3 separate regions of the Homo sapiens genome follow, and regions 1 and 2 are each linked to region 3. Evidence: promoter capture Hi-C in human tissues and cell types (Jung and others, 2019). All regions are on one chromosome and are shown on one strand. The core of a region is centred on a gene start or on the middle of the fragment in contact, and the rest is flanking DNA. Distances in the headings are between cores, read along the strand shown.

Region 1 (3,474 bases), core at 679-3,178, 96 kb before region 3:
CGTTGTTAAGAATTGCTGTTGTAACACTAATTAAATGCTCAACCATACCAGGACCTTAAGCTAAGGTAAGAGAGCTAGAGGGGAAGGAGTGGAGTCTTAATGTTACATGTCTGACTGGGGACACCCTAGACAATATGAATGAGGCTAAAAGTTATGCATTCTCAAATACCATGAAGCTCTTTTGCTAGTAGAAACAGTGCTATCCACACTCACCCTTTTGAGAACACCAGCCTTGCCCTGTATAAACCTTTAAATTACTGCACCTATGTCATTTGCCATATAAAGAGACTTAAACTCACCATTGGAAGTTGTCTTCTGTCTCATAATATAAGAATAAACATAGATAGCATAGTAAGATTCAAAATCTACTTAAGAAGGAAATAACTCATACTCCAACAGAGTTAGAAAATCTTGCCAATCTATTTATATAGAAACCTTGGAAGCATGTGTGGGAGTGGATTGTGAAGGTGTTAGACCAAATGTGATGAGATATAGAGTCGTTCAGGCTGAAGTCATTGACTCCGGTGCACTTATCTGGGATTTGAGTTTTCATATGTTGGCTTCAGCACCTGGGGTCATTAATTAATTAATAATAACCTGATATGCTAGCTATTTGAAACCTGAAACCATCTGTGGCCAAAATAAAGTATGGATGAAGATCTGGAACTCCTCTTTTTACTCCTGTAAAACTGTGATTTTTAAAGATTAATGGGCATTGGAATTAATGAGGGATGTTTTTAAAAATGCAGTTTCTTATTCAGTAGGCATGAAGTGAGGACTGAAATTCTGCATTTCTAACAAAATATCAAAGTCATCCTGATGTTGCTGGTGTGGAGCTCACACTTTGAGAATGAGATTTAAGTTTGCACTTCTAAGGAAAAATAAAAACCTTTTTTTAAAAAACTAAATTCTCTCAGTTGAAAACGAGGAAAGATTTCCCCTCCCACCCTTTTTCTTACACCATTCACTTTAGGAAACTTACAATTATAAGTATTTTCTCCTCTCTTTGACACTTATATAAATCTTTTTGAAAACTATGTAGGACTTTTGTCAACTTTATAAACCAGGGAAGTCTTTCTCAAAACCTGAGTTTCTTTGACATGTAAAACATCAAAGAAGATAGCATCCTTCTCTCTCCATTTTTGTGGGAGGGTGGGATCTAACTTAGGATCTTGTTCCAAGTTGCAGAACTATCTCTTGTAATAAAAATGTAAGAAGTTAATTTTTCCTTTGGTGAGAGACAACTAGCTAACACACATAGTTACCCCAACTACCAAGTGAATTTAGGATATATTGTGTGTAACAAAAGTGTCAAGTCCTCTTACTTGAGGATTAGTTACTGTTAATCTTGAGAACATGTACAAAATGGGTTGTACCTGCTCAGCTATGTAAAAGGGTAAGATTTCTTTCTGTCTTCACAATTTCTTGGTGGATTGCCTGTGATGTATATGAAATTCTGATTTAATGCTTATTTAATAATAAAACTATTTTCTGTCTCTGTTAGCTTTTTGGAGAGGTGTGTTAGTTTGTTTTGCATTGTTATAAAGGAACACTTGAGACTGGGTAATTTATAAAGAAAAGAGGTTTATTTGGCTTATGTTTCTACAGGCTGTACAAGCATGGCACCAGCATCTGCTTGGTTTCTGGTGAGGCTTCACAAAGCTTTGACACATGGCAGAAGGTAAAGGAGGAGCAGGCATCTCACATGACAAGAGAGGGAGCAAGAGAGAGAGGAGAGGCCATGCTGTTTTTTAACTACCAGCTCTTGTGTGAAGCAATAGAGCAAGAACTCATTTATCACCAAAAGGATGGTGCTAAGCCATCAATGAGGGATCTACCCCCATGACTCAAACACCTCCCACCAGGCCTCACCTCCAATACTGAGGATCACATTTCAATATGAGATTTTGAGGGGACAAATATTCAAACCATATCAAGGTTTCCTTTTGTTGGGGGGCAGATTTTGAGAAGATTTTGTTTTTAAATTATATTTCCCTAAAATCCTCTACCGCTCAACCCATGCACACCCCCATTGTTTCGTGTATCTGACCGTTAGCATGTTTAATTTTCATCTATTCCTTTTTTTCCAAGGCAGAGACAAAAAAGCTCCAGTTCAAAGCAACTACATCCAAATGTTCTTGGTGCCAAAATGTTATGTGCCTACACTTTGTCACATCCTTACAGAATTTCTTTCTTTTTTCAAGCTTCAGATTAATGCTTCCAAAACAAAAGCTGCTTTTGTCCATGCTGAGCATATGTTCTACTTAACATCATTGTACTTGACATGCAAGGCATTCTGAAGGAGTGACAAATCCAGGGAAGTGTATACATTTTTAAAAGATCTAGACAAGTGCAAGGTTTAGAATCTGAGGTTATTTCAAATAAAAGGAATGTCAGTGTTCTAGTTTCAGAGAGAGTCATTATTTAATGACACAGAGACTCTGGCGCGCAGAAAGGAACAGGCCAGTAATGGCTGTTAATAGCCAGGTCCAAAGGCCAAGTAGATACAAGAAGGAAAAACAGACATGGCAAGGAATGTTATAGGTCACAAGTTCTGGATGCAGACTTGATAATTCAAATACAGATTTCACCACTTATTGTGTGACAGTATCACTATTGCCTTTGTGAAACGTTCTAAAGTGGAGGTTTCTTCAGCACCCACCAAGATAAAACCCACAATGTCTGACGTCCAATAAAAATATTATCATGCATGAAGGAAGTAGTAAAATATGGCCCAGAATGAGGAGAAAAACTCAATAAGTTGAAGCTGACCCAGTAATGACCCAGACGACAGAATCAGTAAACAAGGACAGTGAATCAGCTTTATAGTTGTATTCCATGCTCAATAAGCTATTTGAATAAGTTAGCTGAGACACAAAAAATATAAAAATGACTCAAGTCAAACTTTAGAGATAAAAAACCTGCAACATCCAATAGGAAAAATACTTTGGATGGAATCAACAACATATTAACCTTGCAGAAGAAAAGATTAGTGAAATTGAAGACATAACAATAAAAGTATCCAAAATAAAACAGAGAGAAAAGAGACTTACAAATGATCAGAGGGTGGTGTAGGCACTCTGAACCATGTGCTCGTACTCAATATTCATGGCACAGACCTCTGGGATTCATCCCGAGATCTGTCATCTTAAACTTCACCCTCTTCCAGAGACAGAGCTCAGGAGACCAGGAAATGTCTCCAGGGTCTCTGAGAGCCAACAGAGTCCCCCCATATTATGAGCTGCTCTATGGAGAGGCCCCAGTGGCAAGGAACTAAGGCTTTTTTTCCAGTGCTTGAAAGGAGCTGAATGAGCTTGAATGTATATTCTCCTGCCCCAGTCAAGCCTTGAGAGTATGTGAGTTTGGTCAACATTTTGACAGCAAACTCATGAAACATTCTGAATGAAAATCACACAGCTAAACTGCGTCCGGATTCTTAGCCCTCAGAAATTTGTAAGATAATAAATGTTTGTG
Region 2 (3,276 bases), core at 7-2,506, 68 kb before region 3:
ACCTTAATATGATTCCGAGAGATAAGGTGTAAATACTCTGGTTGTGAACTGAAAAGTACAAGGTAATTCCTCTTTTGAGTTTCCATAACATATTTCCTGAACCCATAGTAATATTTATCAGTGTCTTCACTGTCTCTCTTTTCTCTTCCATAAACTTCTTAATATAAAATCCAGTTCCTTTTCAATTTTGTGTCACCTACAATGTAAGTGCATATAAATAAATTAGTGGTCAATGAATATCACAAATCAAAGGTGTCGTAGGCTGTGCAGTGTCACTCAGATATGTGCATGTCCTGATCCTGAAACCCATGAACATGTTGCTTTACATTGCAAAAGGGACTTCACAAATGCAATTAACTTAAGCATCTTGAGATGGGGGGATTATTCTGGATTATCTGGGTAGGGACAGTGTAATCATGAAAGAGAAAAGGAAATGTGACAATGGAAGCAAAGGCCAGACTTATTCAGGGCCATGAACCAAGGAATGCTGGCAGCCTCTAATAGCTGGAAAAGGCAAGGAAACAGATTTTCCCATTCCAGAAGGAAAGCATCCCTGTGACCCATTTTAAACAGCTGACATTCAGAACTGTTAAATAAGAAATCTGTGTTGTTTTAAGCCATTAAATTTGTGATAATTTTTTACAAGAGCAAGAGAAAACCAATACAGAATGGAACGATAATTAACTTTAAACATATTTCATTGAATATTGTTCCAAAATAATACCTTTAAAAAGTATTTCTTCCATGGATTAATAAAACACACAATAATCAAGGTGTCCTATACTATACACATGTTATTTGTTATATAATTTTGCTTATGTAACAATTAAACAGAAACCAAGATTTTAAAATATCAGAAATTATATAAATGTTTTTAGGCAGCATTTTCTTTGCTTTATTTTTTAAGAACATTTTATCCAAAATATTTTCATTTTGCAGTAGTGAATAAGCAAAATATGAGCAATGGTGAAACTCTAGAGTTCATCATTCTTATGTGTTAATTGAAAAATAATTGCAAACAAACCGAAACTAAAATCACCAAGGTTTTATATTTAAAATAACTACATTAACAGATTATTGTAATTCCGGAAACCTTTTCACTAATTAGTTTCTCTGGATATACAGACAAAAAGGGACGTGTGAATTTTCTTTAAGCTCATCAAATTCCTCCTGGAGTAATAACTTCTCATTTGTAGTCTGAGTGCTTCATTCAGTGCACCATTTGTCAAATCTGAGACGAGATATGAAATCTAATAGCTTTACACAAGGAACTGAAAGTCAAGAGGAAGCTCCATTCACTAACAGTCTATTATGGAGCCAAAGTCTATAAAATTCCTTTAATTTGCTCATATTCGCAATTAGATTACACTGGAAAATCGATCAAGATTTTATTTTCTAATTTATAGTTCACATTTTGCTACATGTTATATTCAACCATTTCCTTACTGTATGAGAAAATATTCACACAAGATTTTATAGTGATATGTGAAATTAATTTCAAAGTAGATAATCTATATACAGTGAATGGCAAAGATTTACCAGTGATTTTCATATGTTTATGTTTATGCCTGCTCCCGCTTTAACTTAGCAATTGGTTCCCAACTTGACCATATGTTAAGCAGGAAGGAAAAAATGAAAGAATTATCTGGATAATTCAAAACCACTTAGATGTAATATATGAAATTGTGTTGATGATACATAAGTAAAATCACATTCTTAGAAGATTATTATAGCCTGAGATATACTCTGTGACTTAAATGTATCAAGTTCTCACAGGAAAGATTTGTATCAAACATTACAGTGTAGTAATGTTAAAGACTGGAGCTATGCAATGGACCACATAATTACATCCAAAAAATACATGAGGCAATTTTTAGGCAAGTACAATCCAACACTTACTTTAATTTGAAATGTTCAAATATATGAAATTACTAAAAGCTTTAAAGCCAAAGGGGTATGGGTTTAACCATTTGTAAGTTGTGTGAGTTTCAGCAAATTCTTTAGCCTCTGGCTATCGCACCTACCTCATTTTATCATGATGCCTACATAACACATGGACCACATAAGAGCAGGACTTTTGTCTGTGTTGTTCACCTCTCCATTTGCAGTGGCTAGCACAGCAAAAGCAGTAAGTCTTCATTAATTATTGTTGAATAAATGAATAAACTAGTGATCAGCATATAGCTCACTTAAAAGATAGTCATTAATATTAGATTTACAACTTCCTTAATTGTCCCTGATTAAGTTGCATTCTGTCCAGAAATATCTGATATCAGAGATAAGCACTTGAATTACCATGATATTTGCCCCTATTTCCTACATTTATTTGCATGTGAATATAAAGGATGTGTATGTGCTTATATGTATTAAAGTAACATGAAGTGCTATCATTTGTTAGCTGTGACATTTGAAAGATTTAACACCACAGCCTTTCTCTACACCTTCACAGTCTTCTCCATTCTCCCAGGGGTTGGAGAGATGACGTTTATAAATTACACCCACCTTCTTTCTTCACAGTTTAATATACGGGCTACATTGAACCCCAAGAGAAGATAGGAAAAAGATTATGGCTCTGTGCCCAGAAGGAAGAAGAACCCTGTTTGGTGAACAACAAGCTATTCTCTATCACAGTCTGCCCTTATGGTCACCAATTACCTATTCATTTCTCCTCCCACACGTACTCACACAAAACTCACTTCTTTCCCAAGTAAAACAATACGAAGCCCCATCTAGTCAGAGCATTGAGAAAAATTCCAAAATATGACATGCCATTCTTCGTAAGAGGTCATGCAGTCAAGATGTACTTCTGTAAGGTCTAATGACTTATTAAGTAGGAGATAAATTATCTCTTTCCCCTGACACACAATATTAAATAGTGGAACAGGAATAGGAAAATTGCAATAAACACTCCTACTCAGAAAGGACAAAGAGAAACCCAAAGTAGTCCCTGGTCTCTATCAATTCTGATATTCTGCTAGGCCGATGATAGAATTTGGATGTGCCGCTCTCATGGTGAAATGTGACCTCCAGTGTTTGAAGTGGGCCAAGTGGGAGTTGTTTGGGTCATGCGGGCAGATCCCTCATGAATGACCTCCTGCCATCCCCATGGTAATGAGTGAGTTCTTGCTCTGGTTGTTAATGAGAAGGCTGGTTGTTTAAAGGATCCTGGTACCTCCTCCGATTAACCCCTCTCTCGCATGTGGCATGCCTGCTCCCCATTTACCTTCTACCATGAGTAAAATCCTTTTGAGAACCTCACCAGAAGCAGATGCTGGT
Region 3 (3,621 bases), core at 268-2,767:
TATCCTCTCCTAGGCTTGTAAGCTTGGTGAGAGCAACATGGTATTAGCTACTTTATCTCAATATGTTAAACAGGAACTAGTTGAGAAAAAGGGGAAAGAAGAAATGAAGGAAGAAAAGGGAAGTGAGAAAGCTTTCTTAAAGGTCAGAAAGTTTTCTACATTGGGAGATTTAATTGTTTTATCTTTAGTATTTTGTAAAAATCCACTCACTTTAAGGGCAGGAGTTATTTTTCTCCCTTAAAACAAAGAGTATTGACAGAATATATTCACATTGGGGGGATTTTGTTCCATGATGTAATGGATTTGTGAAACAACATTAAAACAAAAAAGAAAACTAGAAAAATGCAAGTAGGGTTTGTAAACTATTAATTTCTTTTCCTCTCTCTTCTTCCTCCTTTCCTACACTCTGATCCCTGTCATAATATTTTTACAAACTCTGAGAAGAAAAAAAGTTTAAATTTATTCTCAGGGGCAAAAGATTACTAAAACACAAACTGTTACTCTTTTATATAGTTTCAGCAGCTTTAACATTTGAAAATGCAAATAGCCTTAAGTTAAAAAAAATCTAGTTGGTGTTTCAATTTTGTATATATCATTTTGATAATAAAATCATTTCTTTAGGCCAAATAAAGAAAAAACAAAGTTTCATGTTTATAAAACAATTGCCAAGCTACAGATACAACAGATATCTTCTCTTTATCCCTCTCTCTTCTCTTCCTCTCATCTCTTCCTGAGTCTCATCAAAGCACTCATGCCAAGAAACCACTTTATCCAGGGAAGGTGGCCACATAACCCAAGAAACAGCAATTGATCTACAAATGCTGACAGTGAGATACAAGCTCTGGAAAATGAACTGACCAAACTGGAAACAGCATGTTGAATAACTGGAAGGATTTTTCCTCTCAAATTCTAGGATTTCTTTTTTTCTTTTTCTTTAGACAGGGTCTCCCTCTGTCACTCAAGCTGGAGTGCAGTGGTGCTATCTCAGCTCACTGCAGTTTCTGCCTGCAGGGCCCAGGCGATCCTCCCACCTCAGCCTCCTGAGTAGCTGGGACTACAAGCATGTGCCACCATGCCCAGCTATTTGATATATATATATTTTTTTTTTTGTAGAGACAGCATTTCACTATATTGCCCAGGCTGGCCTCGAACTCCTGAGCTCAAGAGATTCTCCTGCCTGGAAATAACCTCTTTTATACTTAAAGCAAAGCTGAAAGCAAGAGTTCCTAGCCCAAGATGGCTAGCAGAAAGGAAGCAGCAGCTGTGCAGTTGGGGCGGGGCCCAATTCCTTCCCTGGCCGCCAGGGGGAGTCTACCCACAGCTGACTCTGCTCACCTTAAGCGCGCCACTTGGCGCAGGCGCTGAGGCGCCAGACGTCCCTGCGTCTCTGGTTGGGACGTCCTGAAAGAGAGTCGTCACATCCTCCTCAGGACTCTATGGTTCCGGCCTCAGGACTCTATGGTTCCCGCGAGGGACGAGGGGCAACGTATATAAATGCGCGCAGGCGTAGTTAAGAGAGCGCATTTTGACTTCGAGGCACCGCCGACGTTACTGTGTCGCCATGGGGCGCCGTCCAGCTCGCTGTTACCGGTATTGTAAGAACAAGCCGTACCCAAAATCTCGTTTCTGCCGAGGGGTTCCTGATGCCAAGATCCGCATCTTTGACCTGGGTAGAAAGAAGGCAAAAGTGGATGAGTTCCCACTCGGTGGCCACATGGTGTCTGATGAATATGAGCAGCTGTCTTCTGAAGCCCTGGAGGCCGCCCGTATTTGTGCCAACAAATACATGGTGAAAAGTTGTGGCAGAGATGGCTTTCACATGCGAGTGCGGCTCCATCCCTTCCATGTCATCCGCATCAACAAGATGTTGTCCTGTGCTGGGGCTGACAGGCTCCAGACAGGTATGCGAGGTGCCTTTGGAAAACCCCAGGGTACTGTAGCCCGGGTCCACATTGGTCAAGTCATCATGTCCATCCGCACCAAGCTTCAGAACGAGGAGCATGTGATTGAAGCCTTGCGCAGGGCCAAGTTCAAGTTCCCTGGACGCCAGAAGATTCATATCTCCAAGAAGTGGGGCTTCACGAAGTTTAATGCTGACGAATTTGAAGACATGGTGGCCAAGAAGTGCCTCATCCCTGATGGTTGTGGAGTCAAGTACGTTCCCAGTCATGGCCCCTTGGACAAGTGGCGGGTTCTGCACTCATGAAGGTTTTGGCAGTACTGTCTCCTTGGGCCATGCTGGTCTGACTTATGCTTACTAATAAATTCTGTTTACTGGCAAAAAATAACTCCTTATTAAGTTTTAATATTTTTTAAATATCCAATGTTTTAGAATATAGACTACTAGAGAATTTTTTTCTATTTATTCAGTTTTAATGGCAAATGTTACCTTCCTTGCTTCAGTAAAACTATACAATTTATAGAGAAAGCTGTTTTAAGCAAACACTTTAAATTTAGGAGAGTATAGAGCAATATGTTGAAAGTTTTGTTTGTAGTAAAGTCATAAGTTATGCAGCTATCATTCCTTGAATAAAAAATAGATTTGAGTGAAAAAATTTGTTTATAGAATATAAACTAAACAGTAGCGATGAAAATAATAGTAGGCATTAGTGATATTTCACCCACAGCCTCTTTGGAAGTAATTTATTTCTAAACTTGGTTGCCTTATGTTTTTCTATAAATTTCTGTACATTGTTTTTAGAATTACCTTACACGTCTGATTATCAGCCTTAGGACAATTGAGTATCACTCTGAAAGGCTTTTCCAGACGAACTTTACATTGTCTCACAGTCAAGAGATAACAGTCTAATCTTTTTTTCATCATAGAAAGGTCATAGGTGACAACAGAGTTCATATTACTTGTATCTGGGCTCCAGTAGAACCAAAAGAAGAGAGAAAATGACACTAAATCGGTTATCTGTGCTATAAAAGGACCCTAAAGAGAGTTTGCAATTGTAGGTGCTTGCCCTGAATTAGAGTTACGTTGATGACACAGGTGCTTTTTGTTTTATTTTTGAAACTACATAAGCTAAAATTCCTGAGTTTGTACTGCATTAAAAAAAATTCTTGTTCTTTACAATTGACTTAGCCTTTTGAATCTCAATCCTGCTAACAGTGCCTTCAGTGTTTTTAGACTAACGGTTCTTTTTCAAAGTCAACACATTTAATGAAAACAACAAAAGAAATAGTAAGAAACACTACTATTTAATTTTCATTTATTTAAAGAAATGCTATGTCAGTCTTAACATATTGTATCTGGCTGGATATTTATTTTAGGCCCTTGCTATAAGATATTTCCTATTTGTATATATTTAAGCTATGTTGCTATTTTAAGACGTTTTTCATGTTTGCGTTTTACCACACTTTCAAAAACGAAAATTCAACCTCTAAATAATAATAATAATCAAAAGAGAAAGGCAATACAAAACACAATAAAATCAGCAACCCCTTAGCTTCTAGTACAACCATGGCCCAGCTTTGAAAATATTTTCCATCTTCATTATTTCCCTTTCTCTTTGGTCTTAAACCTCTCAAAACATCTTGACCTTCAAACTTGGAACTCTGCACTCAACTAAATATATAGGGAGAGAGGTTAAGTATAAGCTCATGAACTTCCTTGCC

Evidence for each region. Contacts are between HindIII fragments. The study calls those that stand out against the background at their distance.
Region 1: a contact is called between a fragment that was not itself captured here and the fragment with the promoter of RPL10L in region 3, in 3 of the 25 tissues and cell types used here (adrenal gland, small bowel and spleen).
Region 2: a fragment that was not itself captured here is called in contact with the fragment with the promoter of RPL10L in region 3 in 2 of the 25 tissues and cell types used here (dorsolateral prefrontal cortex and liver).

Annotation. Positions count from the first base shown.
Region 1 is chr14:46,746,205-46,749,678 of GRCh38, reverse strand. No RefSeq gene overlaps it. Among named protein-coding and RNA genes, the nearest start is that of RPL10L, 96 kb to the right of the region's middle. The HindIII fragment of the contact is 3,035 bases long and covers 411-3,445 here.
Region 2 is chr14:46,717,531-46,720,806 of GRCh38, reverse strand. No RefSeq gene overlaps it. Among named protein-coding and RNA genes, the nearest start is that of RPL10L, 67 kb to the right of the region's middle. The HindIII fragment of the contact is 9,502 bases long and covers 1-3,276 here.
Region 3 is chr14:46,649,677-46,653,297 of GRCh38, reverse strand. It overlaps RPL10L (ribosomal protein L10 like), which reads left to right and starts at 1,517. Exons shown (of 1, transcript NM_080746.3): 1 at 1,517-2,288. The coding sequence starts at 1,562. The coding sequence ends at 2,206. The region is part of intron 3 of LOC105370481 (a long non-coding RNA gene); the gene reads left to right. The HindIII fragment of the contact is 6,030 bases long and covers 1-3,621 here.